Linked DNA regions of Homo sapiens: region 2 is linked to region 1. Evidence: promoter capture Hi-C in human tissues and cell types (Jung and others, 2019). All regions are on one chromosome and are shown on one strand. Each heading gives the region's core, a stretch centred on a gene start or on the middle of the fragment in contact. The rest is flanking DNA. Distances are from core to core; before and after follow the strand shown. Region 1 holds the start of MRPL47 (mitochondrial ribosomal protein L47). Region 2 has its middle 13 kb from the start of KCNMB3.

The links. The method cuts DNA at HindIII sites, captures the fragments that hold promoters and counts their contacts. A contact is called where the count stands out against the background at its distance.
Region 2: a contact is called between a fragment that was not itself captured here and the fragment with the promoter of MRPL47 in region 1, in 1 of the 25 tissues and cell types used here (hippocampus).

What each region holds. Positions count from the first base shown.
Region 1 is chr3:179,603,176-179,609,232 of GRCh38, forward strand. MRPL47 (mitochondrial ribosomal protein L47) reads right to left here and starts at 1,463. Exons shown (of 7, transcript NM_020409.3): 1 at 1,352-1,463. The coding sequence starts at 1,449. NDUFB5 (NADH:ubiquinone oxidoreductase subunit B5) reads left to right here and starts at 1,619. Exons shown (of 6, transcript NM_002492.4): 1 at 1,619-1,764. The coding sequence starts at 1,641. RefSeq lists enhancers at 753-1,619, 1,545-1,744, 1,620-2,486, 1,925-2,084, 2,115-2,204. The HindIII fragment of the contact is 10,904 bases long and covers 1-3,077 here.
Region 2 is chr3:179,261,216-179,267,953 of GRCh38, forward strand. It overlaps a transcript of KCNMB3 not described here and the pseudogene LRRFIP1P1. Among named protein-coding and RNA genes, the nearest start is that of KCNMB3, 13 kb to the left of the region's middle. RefSeq lists a silencer at 1-399 and an enhancer at 1,590-2,091. The HindIII fragment of the contact is 3,811 bases long and covers 1-3,156 here.

The sequences.
Region 1 (6,057 bases), core at 213-2,712:
GGTAACATTTTTGGGTCCTTCTTACATTGCTAATGGGTGCAAGCGCAGGTAAAAAGAGCAGTCAATTTTGCAACATGTGGGCTGGGCACGGTGGCTCACACCTGTTATCCCAGAAATTTGGAAGGCCGAGGTGGGAGGATCACTTTGAGCCCAGGAGCTCAAGACCAGCCTGGGCAAGATGGCAAAACCTCATCTTTAACAAAAATACAAAAATTAGCCAGGCATAGTAGCACGTGCCTTATAGTCCCAACTACTCGGGAGGCTGAGGTGGGAGGACGCTTTGAGCCTGGGAGGCAGAGGTTTCAGTGAGCTGAGATCACACCATTGCACTCCAGCCTGGGCGACAGAGTCAGTCCCTGTCTCAAAAAACAAAAACAAAAAAACCTCACAATTTTGCAACATGTATCAGGAGCCTCAAATACTTCCTCCTTTAATTCAGTAATTCTGCATCTAGAAGTTTCAACTGAAAAAATTATTATAGATGGGAATTTATAAATTAAGATGTTTATTAAAGCACTATATAGGATGTCAAGTTTTTAATTATGTAAATACGCAGCTAAGAATGGTTTAAAAATTACTGTGCATCTGGATGATAAATTATTATGCAGTAATTCAAAAATCCTGTTTTTAAAAAATAGTTAACGACCTGAGATGATTTGAAACTAAATAATGAAGTTTATCACAAGTGTTGTATCCCTACCAAAAATATTTAGCCTAAATCTTATAATGAGGAAACAATCAGACAAATCCAAATGAATAAGATTCTTAAAAAGCTAATCTCATCAAAATGTCAACAACATTAAGAAAAAAAAAAAAAAGAAATTGTTCCGGATAGAGACTAAAGAGTCATGGCAACCAATGTAATAAATGGATACTTCACTGGATCCAGGACCAAGAAAAATAAATAAATAAAAGAAGTTACTAAGTTACCAGTTACTTTCATTGTAACACATCCTGTAAATACAAATATCTCTTCTTTTTTAATCCATCCAAACTTGACACAGACTTGAGTATCACAACAAAAACATCTTCGGTAAAGTTTTTCGCACCTCACCCAGCCCAAGAGGATGCTTCTGTACTTATAGATGTATTTACTTCAACAAATGCTGGACATCTACAAACCCCATATACTGTCTTGTCCACAGCAGGCAGCAACAAAATGAGGAAGGAATAGAAATGTCGGAGGTGAGCGACTTCTCCAAGGTCACTCACTCCTCACCAAAGTGGGCTCCGGCTCTGCCATCCAGGCGGCCGTTCCATTCTTGAGTTGTTCTCGGCATCTCGGCATCTCGGCAACCAAACAAGATCCAAAGTTGGAGAGGTGGGCAAACCTACTTTATACATCACTTACCCTGTGCAGGCAGGGACCTGAGGAGTTATTAACGATCGGGAAGATTTCAGGGCGGATGAAACTCTCCTACAAAGAAGGGCCAAACCGGCCGCAGCCATGTTTTCGCATAACTGGCAAAACGCGTTTCCGCCAACGATAGCGTCACTTCCGGCGTCTCAAGCCGGCGGTGAGGAGAATAGAAAACTTGCCCTCACTTAAGATGGCCACATCCTGCCTTTGTCCTCATTGGTAAATTGGCTCTCTCAGCTTCCGTGACCCGCCTCCCTTCTTCCTCCTGCCCGTAGTAGCCATGGCGGCCATGAGTTTGTTGCGGCGGGTTTCGGTTACTGCGGTGGCAGCTCTGTCTGGCCGGCCCCTTGGCACTCGCCTCGGATTTGGGGGCTTCCTCACTCGTGGCTTTCCGAAGGCTGCTGGTGGGTGCTGGCCTAGGGAGAACGGGCGTGAAGCGGGTGCGGGGCGAGAAAAGGGAGGACGCTTCCAGGGTGACCTTGGTGGGATCCGGAGGGAGCCGGGACAAGTTGTGGGCTTGGGGCTTGACAGGAGAGACGGAGCACGAGCTATATGAGGGGTTTTCCTGAAGTAGCCAGATAGATCGTGTTTACATTATTAGCATTTCTAAAACGTTGTTATTCACCATCCCAATTAATGCTAATTTGCGGATGAAGCTGAGTCTAGAAAGGTATAGAGCTGAGATCTGTATCTCTAGGGCACAAGCTTATTGTTGCGTTCCACCTGCCCAAAGGCTAGGTTCTAGTCCCACAGATGCAAAGTCATCTTGCCGAGAAGCCCACCTATGCTAAGGAATATGAAGACAGGTAATATGTAGACAGGTAAAGAGGCTCAGGGCCAACTTATTCTTTAGGCACAGTAAGTACCGTGCCGCCCAATAATGAGATGCAGATGAACTGGGGAGGAAGAGAGGTTTTTGTTTTGTTTTGTTTTGTTTGTTTGTTTTTTGAGACAGAGTCTCACTCTGTTGCCCAGGCTGGAGTGCAGTGGCGCGATCTTGGCTCACTGCAACCTCCGCCTCCTGGGTTCAAGCGATTCTCCTGCCTGAACCCATGATAGTTTTAGGGGTCTACGAAAGTCTTTTAATTTAAATTTCTTTTTTAAAAAAACCATAATGTTTATGAATATGATAACGAATCCAGCCTGTATTATGTTCGTTTTATACCAATGCAGTCATAAAATATTATTTTTAATAACTTAGACGAAGGGGCCCTTGAAGGCAAAAGTGCCTAGGTCTCAGGAAAGTCATAATACAGTCTTTTTTTTTTTTTCTTTTGAGACAGTCTCACTCTGTCACCCAGGCTGGAGTGCAGTGGCACCATCTTGGCTCACTGCAATCTCCACCCCCCGGGTTCAAGCGATTCTCCCGCCTCAGCCTCCCCAGTAGCTGAGGCTACAGGTGCACACCACCACGCCTGGCTAATTTTTGTATATTTAGTAGAGATGGGGTTTCACCATGTTGGCCAGGCTGGTCTCGAACTCCTCACCTCAAATGATCCGCCCACCTCAGCCTCCCAAAGTGCTGGGATTATAGGCGTAAGCCACTGCACCTGACCAATACAGTCTTAATAGGGCTATTTGGACCTCCTTGGAGACAGTGAGTTGCATCATGGCGGTGTGAATAATCATAGCAAAGATCAAATGCTTGATATTCAGTGTACTTTATTATCTCAGAGACTCTGCAAAGAAATTACAATGTTATTTTCATTTTACAGATGAGGAAACTGACTCAATTATTAAATAATGTGTCACTAAATAATAGCCAACATTTACTGAGCACCTGTTACGTGTCAAGCATCCTTTTTTATTTTTATTTTTTTCAAGACGGAGTCTTGCTCTGTTGCCCAGGCTGGAGTGCAATGGCGTGATCTTGGGTCACTGCAACCTCTGCCTCCTGCGTTCAGGCGATTCTCCTGCCTCAGCCTCTTGAGTAGCTGGGATTACAGTTGCACGCCTCCATGCCCGGCTAATTTTATGTGTTTTTAGTAGAGATGGGGTTTCATCATGTTGGCTAGGCTGGTCTCGAACTCCTGACCTCGTGATCCACCTGCCTTGGCCTCCCAGAGTGCTGAGATCACAGGCGTGAGCCACCCCACCTGACCTCAAGCATCATTTTAAGGGTTTAAAGTATTAATTTATTTAATCCTCTTCATTAGATATATACTGTAAGCTATTTGCCCTGTGCAATAGAAGCAGGTAAAGAGGAAGTGAAACACTTAAAGTCAGAAAGTTGTCTCCAGCCTCAAAATATCTTGTTCTCTTTTTACCCCTATTCTCCCAGTTTAATTTGAATTATGCCACTCCACAGGATGAGGCAATATACATAGGGATTTGCTGGAAACATGATGCAAAGAACCAGTGGTATTTAACAAATTTCCAGCAGGAATTTGAACTTGTTACAAAACTACATTCCTTGATGAAAATCCCTTTATAAGCCATTTCTGATTACAGATATTCTCATATAGCCAAATACAAATCCTTCAAATACTCGCTCTGGTAGTATTCAATCAAATCCAGCTGGAGATAAACTGCAGCAAAATTTCACCCCCAGTTTCTCTTTCCACATTATTGCCCTTTCTTGGGGTTCTCAAAGGATCATTACCGTGTTCTGCGCCCTTTCCAATCAGAGCAGGGAAGGTTCTAATAGCTATGTTTACTAAAGGTTACTGTGTTTTCAGCTGTGTACCTGCTTTCAAAGGTATTTTGCATCTGTCACTGTGATATGAAAGCTTTTAATCTCTTACATGGTTGTTTATATCTGTCCCTACAAGAATGTAAGCTCTAATGTAGTAGAGAGCCTGTCTTGTTTTGTTTTTTCTGGAGATAGACTGCCTATCTTCAAATTCTGGCTCTAGAATTCAGAAGCCATGTCTGTGATCATCACATCTTGGAAGCTAAAGTGGAAGACACCTAATTGCTCATAACCTGCATTTCCTCCTCTTTAAAAAAGATGAGAATTTTAACCTGCCTCAAAAGGTAGTTGTGAAGAGTGAGTGGAAAAAATCAACAGTGCCTGGCAGCAGTAGCCTTTAAAAAAATTGTGGTAAAGTACACATAACATTTACTATTTTAACCATTTTTAAGTGCACCGTTCAGTGGTATTAAATACATTCCTAATGCTATGCAACCATCACCATCATCCAACTCCAGAACTTTTTTCATATGGTAAAACTAAAACTCTGTATCCGTTAAACAATAACTCTCCATTCCCCTTCCACGTAGCCCCTGGTAACCACCATTCTGCTGTCTTTATGATTTTGACTACTCTATTTCTCATGTAAGTAGAATCATATAATATTTGTCTGTCACTTAGCATAATATCCCCAAGGCATATTTATGTCGTAGCATATGTCAGAATTTCCTTCCTTTTTAAAGCTGAATTGTCCGTTGTCCATTGTATGTATTTACCCCATTTTGCTTATCCATCATCTGTCAATTGGGTTGCATCTAGGTTTTGTTTGTTTGTTTGTTTGTTTTGTTTTTGAGACAGAGTCTTGCTCTGTCTTCCAGGCTAGAGTGCAGTGGCACCATCTTGACTCACTGCAACCCCTGGCTTCCCGTGTTCTCATATCAAACTGAAGGTCAGGCTGCTATTTCTTGCCATCCAATAATGAGATGCAGATGAACTGGGGAGGAAGAGAGTTTTTTTTTTGTTTTGTTTTGTTTTTTTTTGAAACAGAGTCTCACTCTGTTGCCCAGGCTGGAGTGCAGTGGCGCGATCTTGGCTCACACAGCCATCTCTGCCTCCTGGGTTCAGGCGATTCTCCTGCCTCAGCCTCCTGAGTAGCTGGGATTACAGGTGCACACCTCCATGCCCGGCTAATTTTTTGTATTTTTAGTAGAGATGGGTTTTCACCATGTTGGCCAGGCTGGTCTTGAACTCCCGGCCTCAGGTGATCCGCCCGCCTTGGCCTCCCAAAGTGCTGGGATTATAGACATGAGCCACCGCGCCCTGCCAGAAGAGAGTTTTTATTCCTGTAACTGGTTACAGGGAGAAGTCCTGGAAATTATCGCCAGACCAACTTAAAATTACAGTTTTCCAGAGCTTGTAGACCTTTTAAGCTATATGTCTACATGTAAGTGTGCACTTATCTAAAGACAAAAGTGACTAACTTTTTAAAATCTATAATTAAGGTCTGAGTCCTGAGGACCTTCCTCTGGAGCCTTAGTAAATTTACTTAATTTAAATGGATCCAGGTGCTGGGGTGATTACCCTTATCTTATCTCCTGCTAAATCACGGAGGTTTGGGAAGTTCCTTCAGACCTCCAGTCAACTTGTTTGTGGAGGCCTGGGGAGTTTCTTCAGACCCACAAAAACTTGTTTAATCCTAAATGGGTTCTGTTAAGAATTCTTTCGAACTCCTGTCCTCAAGTGATCCACCTGTCTTGGCCTCTTAAAGTGTTGGGATTACAGCTGTGAGCCACTACACCGAAGCACTTGCAGATTTTAATTACTGTAAAGCTTCACTTAACATCATTGGCTCTTGAAACTGCGACCGTCAGAACCTATAATAAAGAAGGAAGTGATGTTGTTTAAGGACCTGCTGTATGTGGTTTCACTTAAAGTCACAGTTTCCAAGAACTCATCAGTGACATTGAGTATGACTTGTGTTGTGAATAATGTTTCTGTGAACATGGATATACAAATACCTCTTCTGAGACCCTGCTTTCAATTCTTATGGGTATATCTGCAGAAG
Region 2 (6,738 bases), core at 1-2,500, 340 kb before region 1:
GCGCTTCCGCGCTCAAACAGTAGATCTCCCGGCTCTGCGTGGCCGCGGGGCTGGTCAACCTGCTGGGCTCGGCCCGCTCCACCCGGCGGGAAACGCTCGGGGACCGTGCCGGAGCCCCCCCCCGCGGGCCGGGCCAGGGGGCGCGCGCTCTGTCCGCGGAGACGGAGCCACTCGCCGCGAAGTGAACGCTCGCGCTTCCGGGGCCAAGAGCCAGCCCGCCGGGGAGCGGCTCGCGGGACTGGGCTCGGGCGCAGCCGGCAGGGGCGGGGCGTAGGTGGCCGCGGGCTGAGCCTGGCCGGGGGTGGAATGGCGCGGGGGAAGCGGGGCTCGGGCGCCTCCGCCCGCCCCATGGCCCGCCCCGCCCCACACTTGCAATTTTTTTACATTACTATGGTGTGAAAGCAATATGAATTCAGTAGAAACTGTACCTCAAATTTTGAATTTGCATTATTTCCTGGGCTAGCGATATGCAGTACCCTACTCTCTTGAGATGCTGGGCAGTGGCAGCCAGCCATAGTTCCCAGTCTGCCACACAATCATGAGGGTAAATAGCTAATACTCTGAAGTTTTCAACTTACAGTATTTTCCACTTATGATGGATTTGTCAGGATGTAATCCCACTGTAAATGGAGAACTATCTATATGCATGTTTTTACAAAAGATACATCTAAAACACAGATACAAAAAGGGTGAAATTTATAGGCAAAATGTAACAAAAAGCAAACATGAATGTTAAAAATTAAAAAGCTTTATTAGAAATTTAAAAATAAGTGTTTTAACACTGATTAAAGGCTCAATTCACACGGAAAATGTAACAATGCTAATTTGTAGGTACCTGATAGCATTGTTTCACTGATTAAACTACAAGAAGAAATAGACAAAATCCACTATCAGATTATGATGTATTTTTATACACTCCCCCAGTAATTTAGATAGCTTGACCTGAACAAACCAGTAGGGTAATAGATTTAAGTAAAGCAATTAACAAGTTTTATCTAAATGATAAATATAGAATACTCACTTCTACAGAATATATATTATTCTCAAGCATGTATGGAACATTTATGAAACTGTGTCCGGAATTGGTGGGTTCTTGGTCTCACCGACTTCAAGAATGAAGCCGCGGACCTTCGCAGTGAGTGTTATAGCTCTTAAGGCGGCGCCTCTGGAGTTGTTCATTCCTCCCGATGGGTTCGTGGTCTCCCTGGCTTCAGGAGTGAAGCTGCAGACCTTCGCAGTGAGTGTTACAGCTCATAAAGGCAGCGTGGACCCAAAGAACGAGCAGTACCAAGATTTATTGCAAAGAGCAAAGGAACAAATCCTCCACAGCGTGGAAAGGGACCTGAGCAGGTTGCCACTGCTGGCTGGGGCAGCCTACTTTTATTCTCTTATCTGGCCCCACCCACATCCTGCTGATTGGTCCATTTTACAGAGAGCCGATTGGTCCATTTTACAGAGAGCTAATTGGCCCATTTTGACAGGGTGCTGATTGGTGCGTTTACAATCCCTGAGCTAGACACAAAGGTTCTCCACATCCCCACTAGATTAGCTAGATACAGAGTGTGGACACAAACGTTTTCCAAGTCCCCACCAGAGTAGCTAGATACAGTGTCGATTGGTGCATTCACAAACCCTGAGCTAGATACAGGGTGCTGATTGGTGTGTTTATAAACCTTGAGCTAGATACACAGTACCAATTGGTGTATTTACAATCTCTTAGCTAAACATAAACGTTCTCCAAGTCCCCACCAGACTCAGGAGCCCAGCTGGCTTCACCCAGTGGATCCCGCACCGGGGCCACAGGTGGAGCTGCCTGCCAGTCCTGTGCGTGTGCCCGCACTCCTCAGACCTTGAGTGGTGGATGGGACTGGGTGCCGTGGAGCAGGGGGCAGCGCTCATCAGGGAGGCTCGGGCGGCACAGGAGCCCACGGAGGCGGGGGGAGGCTCAGGTATGGCGGGCTGCAGGTCCCAAGCCCTGCCCCGCGGGGAGGCACCTAAGGCCCTGTGAGAAATTGAGCACAGCAGCTGCTGGCCCAGGTGCTAAGCCCCTCACTGTCCGTGGCTTGTAGGCCGGTCGGCCACTCGGAGTGCTGGCCCGCTGAGTCCACGCCCACCTGGAACTCGGACTGGCCCGCAAGCTCCGCGCACAGCCCGGGTTCCCGCCCGCGCCTCTCCCTCCCCACCTCCCTGCAAGCTGAGGGAGCCGGCTCTAGCCTTGGCCAGCCCAGAAAGGGGCTCCTCAGGCGCGGCCAGAGTGGGCGCCAAGGCCGAGGAGGCGCGGAGAGCGAGCGAGGGCTGCAAGGGCTGCCAGCACGTTGTCACCTCTCAAGACCTGACTACAAACTTAGCCACAAAGAATTCCTCAACAAATGTCAAATGATTCATGAAAGTAATATATTTTTATATGCTCATTGTATGAAACTTGAAAAATACAAAAAAAAATGTACAGAAGAGAACAAAAACTCACCCACAACACTTAAAGGTAATGATTGTGCACTTGGTTTGCTGGGTTAATCCCCTCCTGCTCTATATTAGGTTTTTTGTTTTTTGTTTTTTGTTTCTGTTTTGTTTTTCTTTTTCTTTTCTTTTTTTTTTTTTTTTTTTTTTTGAGATGGAGTCTCACTCTGTCATCCAGGCTGCAGTGCAGTGGCATGATCTCAGCTCACTACAACCTCTGCTTCCCGGGTTCAAGCAATTCTCCTGCCTCAGCCTCCCAAGTAGCTGGGATTATAGGCGCCGGCTACCACGCCCAGCTAATTTTTTTGTTTTTAGTAGAAACGGGTTTTCACCATGTTGGCCAGGCTAGTCTCGAAATCTTGACCTCAGGTGATCCACCTGCCTCGGCCTCCCAAAGTGCTGAGATTATAGGCATAATCCACCGCACCTGGCCTATATTGTTTTAAACAGAATGAGATCACATTAGATATGATTTGAGATTTTTTTGTTAATCTTATCTTTTTCACTTAACATAATAAGCACTTTCCCATGTCATTAACAATTCTTTGTAATCCTATTGGCTACATAATGTTCCATCAATTAGATATGCCATATTTCCTTAACCATTTCCTTATTATTGAATATTATTAGGTTGTTTCCAGTTTTCTCAGACCATAAACAGCCTTGTAATTAACTTTGTTGTATTTACAAGCATCTTTCATCCAAGGACCTCAAAGCACTTAAGTATGATCTAGTTTGCTTTCTAGTCAGGAAGATGGATAAAAAGCATATTGATTCCTTTTTCTGCCAGTAATACATGTCCGCTTCTAACCAGTGTATTACCTTGAGCTGTTTTATTCATAATCAAGGCAATATCCACCACCTTCTATTCTCTTCACTGCAGATAGGACTGACTTTCCCACCCAGCCCAAGTACGACACATGGCTACAGGCAGCTTCTGGCTTAGCCTGAGGCAAACTCAATTACAAACAGCCTGAACACACTCACCTGGGTGTGATCCCCACAGAAGCCAGCAGCCTCTCCCTCCAGCACTGAAACTTTTGCAAGAAGTATTCCTTAGAAACATGCTGTGGCTCATCAAAACTTCATAATTCATCTGACATTCATTTCACGGGTGTATGTGAAATGAATGTCTAAACATGAAGTACACTATATTAATATTTCCCTGTAATTCGTTTTGGTTACAGAGGAGACCCTTGGTAATTATTTTTACTCTTCTATTTTTTAATTACAACATTATTTAACAACTTATTTTGAAACAGCAAATAAGGTTAAGTCAACATAGTTCATCAAGTTCAGCAAGAGGAAATAGCAATAATTCAGTTGTGCATTTCAGAAATGAAAATGGGATACAGTAGTTTGCTTTGATGACAACACAACTGCCTTTATATCTAGTTAATTGTGTGACGTATGGGACACTAAAACTTGTTTGCTTGCATGTTTGTCATTTGATCTTTTGCCATAAAGTAATTCATTTTAATTGTCTGTTCACAAAAAAATTGGTTCATGTCTAGCGAGAAGAACACCTTTCTTTCCTCTGTAGTCTGTCTGGTCCTTCTTCCCTGAACCCCCATCTTATCCAAACTCCTGTATCTCACTCTCCTCATGCTCCCTCTCAAATACCCCTGAGTGCAGTTAAGTGATAATGGAAGTGAGTAACATGATGACCATTACCATCTTTAATGTTTTCCAATTCTCAGCTCCCAACTCCACTAGAGCCAATAATAAATCATGCATATTTCCAGATAGTGAGTGAACCTGGTTCTGAAATGTACCCCTCCCAACAGGTTTTTCTTTGTTTGAGACAGAGTTTGGCTCTTGTCGCCCAGGCTGGAGTGCAATGGCACAATCTCTGCTCACTGCAACCTCCTCCTCCCAGGTTCAAGCAATTCTCCAGCCTCAGCCTCCTGAGTAGCTGGGATTACAGGCGCGCCACCACCATGCCCAGCTAATTTTTGTATTTTTAGTAGAGACGGGGTTTCACCATGTTGGCCAGGCTGCTCTCGAACTCCTGACCTCAGGTGATCCACTCACCTCGGCCTCCCAAAGTGCTGGGATTACAGGTGTGAGCCACCGCGCCTGGCACAAAAGGTTTTAGTATCCCATTTGTCCAACACCCTCAGGCATCACTCTTCTCTCCATTTTGGTTCCCACATTGACTGCCCCATGCCCCAACCCTAGGGCAGGCAAAAGGGGTGCAGGTCACTAGAGGCTTTCAGCTTCTTTGCTTTTCATTTCCCTGGGGAGAAAACGGGTCCTGAAAATAATCTCTCACTTCCCCCTTTAAGGAGAAGAGTAGGGTGGGTAATAACAATAGCTAAAAGGCTAGAGTTTAGGGAGGTGTAGAGCGTATACCCGGTATAACAGTATAGTTTAGAGAGGATGTGGTATACTGTGCTGAGACACGCAGGGGCTCTTACTATCTGCATTTCACAGATAAGGAGATGAGGCAAACAGAGAAGTTAAGTGACTTGCCCAGTCATATGGCTGATTAAGTGGTGAGCTGGGTTTGAATCCAAGGGCTGTGACTCCAGGGCTTCACCAATGGGACCTGCCCAGTCATATGGCTGATTAAGTGGTGAGCTGGGTTTGAATCCAAGGGCTGTGACTCCAGGGCTTCACCAATGGGACCAAATGCTGGTCTAATTTCTTCATTCCTCATTCAACCAACAGATCATTCTTGAGCACCAACTATGGGCTGGGCTATGATCAGTGCTGGGGAGCTACAGGTGAGTTTAAAAGGTCTCCAGTCTCCAAGAACTGGCAACCTAGAGGATAGAGCCAACAGGAAAGGCTGCAGCCCCGTGATGTGAGTGCTACTGGGGAAGCCTGCTGGGTACCCTGGGAGGCATGGCAAGTGGGCATCCTCAGAGAAAAAGGAAACACTCACTCCCCAAGCTCGAGATGTCCCCTCTTCTTGCAACTGCTTGTTCAGCCAGATTCCCACTACCGGCAGAGCTTCCGGAAGTGACTTACCTCCCCTGGCGCCTCCGGCTGCCCTGAAGTGTGATTTGCACGGGGATGCTGAAGGGCTGCATGAGGCCAGGGGTCTGAGAAAATGGCTCCCTTTCACCTGAGTCATGCCCCTGCGGGCGCAAGAAAGGTGAAGCTTAGACATCCACGGAAGTGGAGTCCCAGCGGGAGCCCCCAGCCCCCAGCGCAGCTGCAGCCATTAGAAGCCCCCCGCCTTCCTGGAGAGGTGAGAACTTCAGGCAGGCTAGCCACGTGGTTCTGCAGACTCCTGGCAAGGCGGAGCGGTCAGTTCTAGATGATCAAGAAGGACCTGCGTGGTTTGCTGCAGCCGAAGCTGCTTCTCTCTCTTTGCACTGTGCTTGCCGCCACCTCATCACCTGTGTTTCCGCCTCGGCAGCCGGGAGCATCGCCATAGAGACCTCAACGCTTGTGGAAAGTTCTGAGGCCCAAGGGGACCCTCTATAATTGGTGAGGGACGTACTCAGTTCAAGGTTTATAAGAAGAGGAAATGTTTTGCCCTGGCCGCGTTTCCTTTTCCACGTATTGTCTGTTAGAGTGCAAGCTGAAATAATGGGTTTTCTAGTTAATGGCATGTTCCAATTAAGATAATTCGCTTTTAAACCATATGTGATTTCCCAATTTTTCAAGATACAAAGGGCCATAAAATAACTCGCCATTAAAATTATCTCAAATTTTAAGAAAAGCTGTATCAAATATTATTTTATCTTTCTCTGATGACTTAAAAGACATTTGGGGATCTTTCCACACTCCCAAATTAGGAACATCAATTACCATTATATTATAGTACCACACATTGCTACAGGCACCTGTAGATGTGGATGACAGAATGCCAAAGAGACCATGTTTGCTGTATGTTTTTCAGTCAAGGCGATATTATCTTAACATTTTCCAAGATGGTGTGGGCAAGAATGTAAGCGTAATCTCATCTATAAATATCCATGTACATATAGCTATATAAACTCTTACTTGCAGTCATTTTAATATTGCTTAATAAAAATATATACTTAATAGACTTTTCATTTGTATTATTTTTCTATTTCTATTTTATAAAATATTTGTTTGGGTTTTTTTGAGATGGAGTCTCCCTCTGTCACCCAGGCCGGAGTGCACTGGCTCAATCTTGGCTCACTGCAACCTCCACCTCCCAGGTTCAAGCGATTCTCCTGCCTCAGCCTCCCGAGTAGCTGGGATTACAGGCATGTGCCACCACGACTGGCTAATTTTTGTATTTTTAGTAAAGACAGGGTTTCATCATGTTGACCAGGCTGGTCTCGAATGCCTGACCTC